Regions from separate parts of the Homo sapiens genome. Here regions 1 and 2 are each linked to region 3. Evidence: promoter capture Hi-C in human tissues and cell types (Jung and others, 2019). All regions are on one chromosome and are shown on one strand. The core of a region is centred on a gene start or on the middle of the fragment in contact, and the rest is flanking DNA. Distances in the headings are between cores, read along the strand shown. Region 1 overlaps WWOX (WW domain containing oxidoreductase). Region 2 overlaps DYNLRB2-AS1 (DYNLRB2 antisense RNA 1). Region 3 holds the start of MAF (MAF bZIP transcription factor).

Evidence for each region. Contacts are between HindIII fragments. The study calls those that stand out against the background at their distance.
Region 1: a contact is called between a fragment that was not itself captured here and the fragment with the promoter of MAF in region 3, in 1 of the 25 tissues and cell types used here (mesenchymal stem cells).
Region 2: a fragment that was not itself captured here is called in contact with the fragment with the promoter of MAF in region 3 in 1 of the 25 tissues and cell types used here (heart left ventricle).

The regions. Positions count from the first base shown.
Region 1 is chr16:78,748,051-78,752,272 of GRCh38, reverse strand. All of the region lies in intron 8 of WWOX (WW domain containing oxidoreductase), which reads right to left. Among named protein-coding and RNA genes, the nearest start is that of WWOX-AS2, 250 kb to the right of the region's middle. The HindIII fragment of the contact is 9,408 bases long and covers 1-4,222 here.
Region 2 is chr16:80,461,075-80,464,849 of GRCh38, reverse strand. All of the region lies in intron 2 of DYNLRB2-AS1 (DYNLRB2 antisense RNA 1), which reads left to right. Among named protein-coding and RNA genes, the nearest start is that of DYNLRB2, 78 kb to the left of the region's middle. The HindIII fragment of the contact is 5,772 bases long and covers 1-3,775 here.
Region 3 is chr16:79,598,367-79,602,096 of GRCh38, reverse strand. MAF (MAF bZIP transcription factor) reads left to right here and starts at 1,360. Exons shown (of 2, transcript NM_005360.5): 1 at 1,360-3,312. The coding sequence starts at 2,195. LOC101928230 (a long non-coding RNA gene) reads right to left here and starts at 1,210. Exons shown (of 3, transcript NR_188556.1): 1 at 1,108-1,210; 2 at 1-50. RefSeq lists an enhancer at 1,151-1,445. The HindIII fragment of the contact is 24,643 bases long and covers 1-3,730 here.

The sequences.
Region 1 (4,222 bases), core at 1,234-3,733, 850 kb after region 3:
TTAACCTGATAGTCTCTAACACTGACAGACAAAATATTAAAGAACATTTACCAATATTTCAAGTCACTCAACTACTTAAAGGTATATTTTCAGTACGCATCGAAGTGAATCACTCAAAAGCAGACATTGTACAAGAGATACTCTTTTATGGATTGAGACAACTGACTGATTATTTAAAACAAAGACAAAGTTTTACCAATGTTAGAATTTATGTTCACTTCTGTGAGTGAATTTTGTGTCGTCTCTCTCCTCATCCTCCTCCTTATTTAAAGAAAAATGCCAATTCTCTTTAGAAGTATTGTGGCAGCCCACTTCCACGTGGAGGCACCAGAAGAAAGACACAGTTGGGTTATTCATTTTCATCTGGGTGACCACTCTGCCTCCAGTCTTACTCTAAAATGGGAATTAATTTCTTTCTTACCTTCCCTCCCTCCTTCCTTTCTTTTTCTAGAAAATCCTTTCTCTTCCTTTTCTCTCTCTCTCTTTCCCTCCCTCCCTCCTTCTTCCCTTCCTCCTTCCTTCCTTCCTTTCCTTCTTTCATCACAACATGTCTACGTGTTGGTAAGGAACTGAACCTACGTATTTTTTAACTCTGCAGAAATGGCTTTCTTGGAGTATTGTTTAATATCAAACTCTATTTTTGTATCTACATAAATATAAGGCATGCATGACTGATGGAAGAATGTTTTGTTATTTTTAGTAAACTGTTTTAAAATGCTGTATCACCTTGTCTTTTTATATGAGTTTTGGGTCTTTACATGTATATTTATATACAAACATATGCATATATATATATATATATATATATATAAAATCTGATAAATATATATATAATCTGATAAATATATATATATATAATCTGATAAATTCTTACAGTTATGTTGCAGGACAGAGGTGTGTTACTATACACCTCTGTTTCTTTTTTTTGGTTGAAAACTCTTTGCTTTTGACTCCCAGGAAACCCAGCTAAATTTAATGCTAGATGTCAGAAATAATTCATAAAGTTTCCAGGTATATTTATCTCATATCTTCTTCTAACTAATTTCTGATATGTAGTTCGAAACACAAATTAAATACATCTGTCTTTTATATGTAGTGTACTATTCCCTTTTGAGTCAAATTCTTTTTGGAAGTAGGAATGGTTTCAACTGTTTGAAACAGCACTCTTCTCTTTTCTCTGCAACCTTGTCCCTATGAAAAATAAATTGGAGATTTCTCAAAGGTCTAAAAATAGAATTACCATTTGACCTAGCAATCTTATTAGTGGGTATACATTCAAAGGAAAATAAATCACTCTACTAAAAAGACACCTGCACTCACGTTCTTGGCAGCACTACCCACAACAGCAAAGACATGGAATCATCCTAAGTGCCCATCAATGGTGGATTAGTTAAAGAAAATGTGGTACGTATACACCACGAAATACTACACAGCCATAAAAAAGAAGAAAATCATGTTCTTTGCAGCAACGTGGATACAGCTTGAAGCCATTATCCTGAGCGAATAAATGCAGAAACAGAAAACCAAATACCGCATGTTCTTACTTACAAGTCGAAGCTCAACACTGCGTACACATGGGCATGAAGACAGGAACAATAGACTCTGGGGACTTCAAAAGGGGGGACTAGGGAGGGAAGGAGAAAAGGATTGAAAAACTACCTATTGAGTACTATGTTTACTAATTTGGGTGATGGGTTCAATTGAAGCCCAAATCTCAGTATCTTGCAAGATATCCATGTAACAGACCTACACATGTACCCCCCGAAACTGAAACAAAAAATAAAAAATAAAATAAAATAAATCCCAGTTTACTTACACATGATAAATAAATGAAACAGCACTGTTCTTTCTTTACTTTTTCTAAGCCAACTCACACTTCCTGATCCTAATGGAAATCCTTTCGGGTTCACAACTAGGAGTCCTGGTCCCATTCTTACAGACCACAGGAGGGGCAAGACAGCTATGAAATTTTGTGCCTCTCATTTCTGTCCTGCAGAGAAACTGAGCCTCTGAATAGGAGTTCAGTGGAGATCACCCACCAGCTGACCTGGGCAGTGGGTTTTTCTTCCTGTTTTTGAATAAGGCAGCAGCTGAACTGTACAAACACCTCTACTTTCACCGAGGTGTTGCTCACTATTTTATTTTCATTTCTCTTCTTCCTTGTTTTTAAGGTGTGAAAAAGACTTTCAGCAATGCCTTCCATATGCTGTCTTATTTTATTTCTCCTATTTTTCCCTGATAGAGTCTATCTACTACTGAACGACAAGAAGGGATTGTTGGGGGGAGCTGAGAGTCACTCTGCCAAAAAGCATCTGACTTGTAAACAGTGCAAGACTTTTAAAAGTCTACTCTCTGACCTTCTATTTTGAGGACCCTCAAAGTGAAGAAAGTCAAACTTGGTATTAAATAACCACCCAGGATGTGGTTGTCAGCTTGAGGTGTTAAGAGGAACAGTTTATAAAAAGCCTGGTTAAATATAGGAAGTACAGTTGCATTTCAGGTAACTCGAGATTTGAACATCCAATACGGCTTTAACGGAGGCAATCTATTTGGCCCATTTTCACAGATATATATTAAATGACACCTATTTTGAGGTCTATAATTTTTCCTCCTTAGCTAGACCAGAAAACACTTCCTCCACCCTAATTCATGCTTCCTTATCCTCCAAATGTATATCCTCCACTTTTTTTCCCCACTGAAATAAATACATCCTTAAACTACTTTGCATAGCCCTAGGGTAAAACAACAATTGTAACAACAACAAAACATTAAATGCTTCATTATGATTTAATATTCTATCACCAGAACCCAAAACCTCAGTTTGACTATTTTGGGTCTCTCTCTTTCTCTCTTTTAAACTATTATTAAAATGGTAATTTTAATGCAAAAGGCTGTATTCAATTTTAAAACATTGTTTTGTTTTGAATTTCAGCTGTCTTGAAAGTCCATTTTTTTCCCCTTTCCTCTCTGTAGGGAAGAGGATTGAACTTCTCTCGAGCTCTGTTTCCTCATTTGTAAAATGCAGGATCTACCTATGATGTAGGTGGTTAAACAGTAGTCTGTGTGTGATGCATGGCACACAGGTCACCCCATGGCAGTGCATGTTTTATCTGCGTACCCATGCAGACAGCCCTTGGTCATGGAGGACTATGCCACCATAGCCTCGGTCCACCAACCCCTAAGCACTAAAACACATCCAGACCATGTGATCAGCAATTGATAATTTTAGAATACACTTGGCTAATTTCTCTGATCCCACTGCTACAAATAAACCTTGCAGTCGTTGATTTGGTCAGGTTCAAATTTCACCACGGCCCTACGGGCATAAAGATGAATTATTTGATTGCAAGGAGAAATAAGAGACCATGTGTCAGGCTGCTTTGCAAATCAATTCACCTCCCCTGCAAAGATGCTCCTTCCTACTTAAGATATATGGCTTTACAAGGATTTGGGCAGCATCTGTGTTTGCCGTGTCAGAGGGCAAGACGCATGCAGATGTAATATCACCGAGCAGTGTAATCCGAGTGTGCATGAAAAATAACTGCAGAGGGAATGAGGGAACCCTTTGCCACGGGCCCTGACAGCACCTCAAATAAGCACTTTACCTAATCTCCCTTGTTGATTCCTATCTGGGCCCAGTGACTTCATGCAGCTGCCATCTGCTAACCAGTTAGGGCATGTTGATCACGGACGTATTGTAATCAGAGCTGAGGTCTCCAATGGTAAAGCAGGCTTGCTGCCAAGATGGGGCAAGACCCTAATAAGAATGGCAGAAAGGAGCCGAAAGGTGAACTTTACAGCCAGCATGCCTGGATTAAGCTTCTATTTTATTTAACTCTGTATCCCCAGGGCTTGGCGTGGAAAAATGCCCAGTAAATACTGCAGATAGAAATGAGTGAAAGACTTTCCATAAAAAGTGAAGCACTTCCACCACTGGGTAACAGTAATTATTTGCATAGAGTCTTTTGAGCTATTTTATAGTAGATTAAAATGTTTATTTGTGGTGAGCTATCTGTGGTAGACAAGGTTCATTCATTCATTCATCAGATATGTATTGAGTGGACACTGCCCTAGCTTTGGTGCCTGTTCACCTTTGTAGCTCAGGAATTCGGCAATGACACGGGGTGCAATGGATAAATGCGAGATAGAGGAGTGGAGGGTCCGGTCTGGGAGAGAAAGAGCAGAGTCTGTGAAAAAACTAACAGACAGGGGACACTTCTGC
Region 2 (3,775 bases), core at 128-2,627, 860 kb before region 3:
CTCTCTTCTCTCCCAGGATCATCTCTCTCTTTCTCCCAATTTGCAAGGCCCAGCTCCAACATGGCCCTGTTCTGAGGTCTTTCCCAAGCTCCCACCGTTCCTTGCTCTCTTCTCTGTGCTACTTTAGCCAGCCCTACACCTCCATCCCTCCAGGAGCAAATGCCTCCTTGAATTTTGTCCCCTAGGTGCTGTTACCTTTCTCCTGGCTCAACTGCAATTAGAGGATTTTAGAATTAAATTACATGGTAGTAGAAATAATATCACTAAGTATAATACATTTTTAATGCAAAACCAAAACCAAAACACCCAAACATGACAGACATTCCACCTCTTTCTTCATCTAATCCACATTCCCACACCCTTTTTTGGAATGGGAAGGGGGCATTTACCATTATCTATTTCCAATCCTTCCTTGCAGACTTTTTGCTATTGCATTTTTGTGTGTGCCTGTGTCTGTTTATCCTTGGATCTGTAGTACTTTTTACACACCATGACGACAACATGATTGCATGATGTTGAGTGTTCTATGTCCATATCATTCTTACCCAATAGGCTACAAGGTATTAAAGGTCACCAACTGTATTTTATTAATCTTTTTATCTCCAGGAACCAACACCGAGGCAGGCACAAAAAGACTGTGTTTCCATAGGTAACTGAGTAGAAAACAAGTGTGGTTGAGTGTGTGCACATGGGTGTGAGGTGGGAAGAAACAGAAAATCACAGAGGAAGGTTTAATTGGAGTGTCATTTCCCCTTGTTGGCTGAAATTCCCAGAAGACATCTTGGATCTCTGCAGAAGCTGCAAGAAAGGGCAAGGTTGGAGTGAGCAGCTGAGCAGAACATTGAGTTAAGTGCAGGCACTGATCCTTGAAAGGCCTGGCTCATCCAGGGAGAGAGGGCGACTCAGAGGGTGCAGGATGTGCATCTGCAAAACCTCCCGGCTGGAGCTGCGCATTAAGATTTGCTTGGTCATTAAGATTCAACGGGAGAAGCAGGGTCTCCCTGCCTGTCAGGTGACTGTTGAGAATAGGCTGTGTCGGTACGGATCTGAACACTATGAAGGACTTAGGAGCTACATCTCAAAACCTAGGGGGGAAAATAGTGCAAAATGGCTTTTGTTATTAGAGGTGTATTTTATTGCCTGAGGTTGGAAGGCTGTTTGCAGGTGGGAAATGTGTTCTCCAGGATCTTCCCCACAGGTGGTGCAGGTCTTCTGTATTTCCAGCCTGTCTCCTTCCCTATTAATCATTCTGATTCTCTCATCCTGTGCAGATGTCATGGGCCTCTGTATCTGAAGACTTTATCGGTGTTTATCTTGTAGCTTTTAATAAATCATTTACTGATGGTGTGTGATCCAGGGTGTTTTACATGAGTGAACGCCACCCTGGCCTCACCTTGCTGCATTCCTGTGACATGTCAGTGTGACTTCTGTTCTGGCTCCCTCCCTGAAACTGGAGCTAGAAAAAGGGAGTGAAATTGCTGTCTCAAAAAGCTTGTTTTGGGACAAGGGTGAACTTCACTTAATCTAATTATCTATAGTCATTATTGTATCAGAGGATGCACATTAAAGCAGAAACGGTTGCTGCAAGAGACTAGCACAGACCACGGAAAAGAAATTTGCTCTTCAGTGAGGGATGCACTTCAATCTGTCTCCTGCTCTCTTGACTCTTTTTGGTTTATGGTATGTTCTAAACCAGGGAGTGGCAAACTATTCTTGGGCCACCAGCCCGCCTCCTGCTCTGTAAATAAAGCTTTATCGGAACACAACCACAGCTATTTGCTCACGTATTATCGATGGTTGCTTTTCCAGGTATAATAGCAGCATTGAGTAGTTGTGACCCTCTGGCCTGCAAAGCGTAAAATAATTATCATCTGCCCTTTTACAGAAAAACTTGTGAGGGCCCCTGTTCTAGATATTTCACAGTTACCATCAGTGGGTGGTGATGCCCTGTCTGTGTCCTAGGGGTCCTCCAATCTGTGCCACAATTCTGAAGAAAAAAGTGTCAGGGACAATAGTACTTATGCCCATGTGAATGTCTACATGCACACATATGTGTATATGTGTTTATAATGTATAGGTGTGTGCCTGGGTGCAGGGGGGAAATCTTGAAGGGTGTACACCAAGCATGTGAACAGCAGTCATCTGGGTGGCAGGATTCTGTGTTGTCTTTCTCACGAGTGTATATTTTTGAGGTTTTCTGCGATCACTGTATATTTTGTATACGGCAGCAGCAACAACAATGACACAATCCTTCCTTCTTTTGTTACCTGATTTTCCCTGTATGGTTGGTGACAGTAAAGTTATGTTCCCATAATGAAATTGAGCAGGGAAAATGTCCTTTGTAGTTGAGAACTTAAGAAGCATTTGGTGACATCTGAGCACATGATCCCTCCTCCCCTGACACAAGGAGAATGAGCAATTATAGCTGTTTTGACATTAAATTTGAAAACAAAATGAATTTACATATGTACATACACGCATCTACATGCATTTGTACGTGTATATAAAATTTCCTTTTTATTTCCCCTTTCCTGTGCAACATTTCTCTAGTTTCTCTTCATTTATTATAATTACTTTTGGTAGCCTACAGATGCCAGTTGTAAGTCAATGGCTTTGGAAAAAATAAGAACATCTTTACAAAATATTTTTTGAAGAGCATGCATTCCTTCATAAGTTAGCAGCTACAGAAAGTAAAGACCACGTTTGCTTGCTCCTGGGAAATTTGCATCTGGGAATTCTTTGGAAACCGGACAAGGTCCCTTAAACTGTCTGTTCCTTGCTGCATGAACACTACATCAGGCACAACGGAAAATGGAAACCTAACTGCCTTTCCATGTTTTCTTTCTTTTTTTCTTAAATGCAAGCTTTGAAGGATCAAAGTCATGAGGACCAGCCAGGATTTGGGCTTGTTCCTGCCTCCCAAGTCAGCATAGCTGGGTGCAGAGATGGGTCAGGTGGTTCTTAAAACAGGTGCCTGAGTGCTGCCCTGGGACACTTGTACATTTAGGGGTGGGCAAGAATACTGCTTGTATTAGTCTGTTTCCAAACTGCTATAAAGAACCACTTGAGATGGGGTAATTTATAAAGGAAAGAGGTTTGACTTAGTTCTGCATGGCTGGGGAGGCCTCAGGAAACTTACAATCATGGTGGAAGGTGAAGGGGAAGCAAACACCTTATTCACATGGCGGCAGGAGAGAGAGAATAAAGAAGTGTCTCACTTTTAAACCGTCAGATCTCATGAGAACTCACTCTGTGTCATGAGAACAGCATGGGGGAAACTGCCCCCCACGAGCCAATCACTTCCCACCAGGTCCCTCCCTTGATAAGTGGGGATTACAATTTGAGGTGAGATTTGGGCGGAGACACAGAGGCAAACCCTATCACTGCTCATACTCCTTAATCTTTATTCAATTTGTTCTCCCTTTGTAAGACTCCAAAGAGAGTCCTGACTCCACAGCTACAGGTATGGCCAAGTGGTGGTGGCTGGTTGTGCAGAGGAGCTTGGTTTGATTCAGAATCTGCTTCCCTAAACCATTTGGATCTGTGAGGGTCCTGACATGAGGTGTGCCTCTCTCTCAGTGCAAATGAATAGGTACACATTGGCAACTCTGCATCCCAGGATATCATTCCACAGCAGCGAGACTCACCTGGCAGAGGCCCTGGTTTAACAGACATACTGGCAGGAAACAGAGCTAGGGTATCCTCTCTCTCTCTCTGGATTCTGGCAAGAGTTGAAGAGGATCAGAGTACTGGATGTAGAAGGTTTTAAGCAACC
Region 3 (3,730 bases), core at 111-2,610:
TTCTCTCCAAATAAATCTCTGCTTCTTCGACTTGCCTATCGCTTTAAAATCTTAGAAACAGAGTTAGTTGTTGGTTTCCTTCTTTTTTCTTTTTCTTTTTTATTTCTTTTTTGCATAAACTTTTAGAGAATCAATCTAGAAATTTGAACTACTTATTAGCATTTGCAACTGGGGGTGGGGGGAGCAGCCTCCCCCACCCCACCCCCCACTCTGCGTTTCCGGACTAGTTCCAGAAACCGCGGTTTAAAATTTAACCCTTCGAGGGTAGCTGGTGAGGGCTGGGGTATTGTTTTTCCCCCTTGCTCCCTGCCACGATCAAGTCCGAAATAATTAAAGGAAACGTAAAAGTGCAAAGGGCGCGCCTGACCCTGATAAACAGAGGTCAGATTTCGTAAGGGGACGGGTGAGTGTGAGTGTGTGTGTGTTTGTGTGTGTGTGTGTAAGAGAGAGAGAGAGCGAGCGCGCAATATGAGTCTCAAAGGCCAAACTCCGGCCAGTCAGGAGCCGGAAGGCTGAGCCCGGCTGACCTGACTTTGAGCTTCCCCGGAGTTATCTCGCATAGGCGCTCGCTCTGTCCAAGGGCACGCGACGCCAGCGGGCAGCCGGTCTCCGTGAAGAATGGCCTCTAAACAACTTATTTTACCTCGTTGTAAAGAGAGGGATAAAATGGGCTTTCCCTCTCCACGGATGCCCAGCCTTCTGGGCAGGCGCATGGCCGGGCGGCGCCCAGCCCGCAGCCCCGATCCGGACACCCCACTGCATCCCTCCCTTCCCGGTCCCTTCCCCGCACGGGCGCCCGAGAGACGGACAAAGAGTTGGGGCCAAGTTTGAGCGCCGGGCACGGCCAGGCTCAGGGAAGGAAGGTCCCCGGCAGACACCTGGGTACCAGAGTTGGTGCGAGGAGGAAAAGCTGGGAGGCGAATTCACAATCCTGGGGGTGGAGGGCAGGCAGGGGAGGGGAATCAGGCCAATCCCAGCCGAGTGAGCCCCCAGCGAGCTGGGGCTCCGGATGGGAGGCCTGTCTCGCGCTCCAAAGAAAAGCAAACCGCCCTCCCAGGTCCGCCCGGATTGCCGAAGCCCCTCTGGAAAAACTCCTTCCCCTCTTACACCAAACTTTGCGCCGGGCCTCGTTCCCTCCCGGGTAGGCAGCGGCGCAGGAAGGGTTAAGCCAGCCCGTCCCAGCTGACAGTCAGCTGATTGGGCCCTGATTGACAGCTCCGAAAAGTTTCCTTGTTTCTATACTATTATGCTAATCGCGGCCGCTCTCGCCGCCTCCCATTGGCCCGGAGTGCCAGTCAATTTCTCATTTGGACCTGACGTCACGAGTGCTATAAAACTCAGCAATTGCTTTAAACTCTTCTTGCTGGATCAGAGGCTTTAAAATCTTTTTTCATCTTCTAGCTGTAGCTCGGGCTGCTTGTCGGCTTGGCCTCCCCCTCCCCCCTTTGCTCTCTGCCTCGTCTTTCCCCAGGACTTCGCTATTTTGCTTTTTTAAAAAAAGGCAAGAAAGAACTAAACTCCCCCCTCCCTCTCCTCCAGTCGGGCTGCACCTCTGCCTTGCACTTTGCACAGAGGTAGAGAGCGCGCGAGGGAGAGAGAGGAAAGAAAAAAAATAATAAAGAGAGCCAAGCAGAAGAGGAGGCGAGAAGCATGAAGTGTTAACTCCCCCGTGCCAAGGCCCGCGCCGCCCGGACAGACGCCCGCCGCGCCTCCAGCCCCGAGCGGACGCCGCGCGCGCCCTGCCTGCAGCCCGGGCCGGCGAGGCGAGCCCTTCCTTATGCAAAGCGCGCAGCGGAGCGGCGAGCGGGGGACGCCGCGCACCGGGCCGGGCTCCTCCAGCTTCGCCGCCGCAGCCACCACCGCCGCCACCGCAGCTCGCGGAGGATCTTCCCGAGCCTGAAGCCGCCGGCTCGGCGCGCAAGGAGGCGAGCGAGCAAGGAGGGGCCGGGGCGAGCGAGGGAGCACATTGGCGTGAGCAGGGGGGAGGGAGGGCGGGCGCGGGGGGCGCGGGCAGGGCGGGGGGGTGTGTGTGTGAGCGCGCTCGGAGGTTTCGGGCCAGCCACCGCCGCGCAAGCTAGAAGCGCCCCAGCCCGGCAAGCTGGCTCACCCGCTGGCCACCCAGCACAGCCCGCTGGCCCCTCTCCTGCAGCCCATCTGGCGGAGCGGCGGCGGCGGCGGCGGCGGCGGCAGGAGAATGGCATCAGAACTGGCAATGAGCAACTCCGACCTGCCCACCAGTCCCCTGGCCATGGAATATGTTAATGACTTCGATCTGATGAAGTTTGAAGTGAAAAAGGAACCGGTGGAGACCGACCGCATCATCAGCCAGTGCGGCCGTCTCATCGCCGGGGGCTCGCTGTCCTCCACCCCCATGAGCACGCCGTGCAGCTCGGTGCCCCCTTCCCCCAGCTTCTCGGCGCCCAGCCCGGGCTCGGGCAGCGAGCAGAAGGCGCACCTGGAAGACTACTACTGGATGACCGGCTACCCGCAGCAGCTGAACCCCGAGGCGCTGGGCTTCAGCCCCGAGGACGCGGTCGAGGCGCTCATCAGCAACAGCCACCAGCTCCAGGGCGGCTTCGATGGCTACGCGCGCGGGGCGCAGCAGCTGGCCGCGGCGGCCGGGGCCGGTGCCGGCGCCTCCTTGGGCGGCAGCGGCGAGGAGATGGGCCCCGCCGCCGCCGTGGTGTCCGCCGTGATCGCCGCGGCCGCCGCGCAGAGCGGCGCGGGCCCGCACTACCACCACCACCACCACCACGCCGCCGGCCACCACCACCACCCGACGGCCGGCGCGCCCGGCGCCGCGGGCAGCGCGGCCGCCTCGGCCGGTGGCGCTGGGGGCGCGGGCGGCGGTGGCCCGGCCAGCGCTGGGGGCGGCGGCGGCGGCGGCGGCGGCGGAGGCGGCGGGGGCGCGGCGGGGGCGGGGGGCGCCCTGCACCCGCACCACGCCGCCGGCGGCCTGCACTTCGACGACCGCTTCTCCGACGAGCAGCTGGTGACCATGTCTGTGCGCGAGCTGAACCGGCAGCTGCGCGGGGTCAGCAAGGAGGAGGTGATCCGGCTGAAGCAGAAGAGGCGGACCCTGAAAAACCGCGGCTATGCCCAGTCCTGCCGCTTCAAGAGGGTGCAGCAGAGACACGTCCTGGAGTCGGAGAAGAACCAGCTGCTGCAGCAAGTCGACCACCTCAAGCAGGAGATCTCCAGGCTGGTGCGCGAGAGGGACGCGTACAAGGAGAAATACGAGAAGTTGGTGAGCAGCGGCTTCCGAGAAAACGGCTCGAGCAGCGACAACCCGTCCTCTCCCGAGTTTTTCATGTGAGTCTGACACGCGATTCCAGCTAGCCACCCTGATAAGTGCTCCGCGGGGGTCCGGCTCGGGTGTGGGCTTGCTAGTTCTAGAGCCATGCTCGCCACCACCTCACCACCCCCACCCCCACCGAGTTTGGCCCCCTTGGCCCCCTACACACACACAAACCCGCACGCACACACCACACACACACACACACACACACACACACCCCACACCCTGCTCGAGTTTGTGGTGGTGGTGGCTGTTTTAAACTGGGGAGGGAATGGGTGTCTGGCTCATGGATTGCCAATCTGAAATTCTCCATAACTTGCTAGCTTGTTTTTTTTTTTTTTTTACACCCCCCCGCCCCACCCCCGGACTTGCACAATGTTCAATGATCTCAGCAGAGTTCTTCATGTGAAACGTTGATCACCTTTGAAGCCT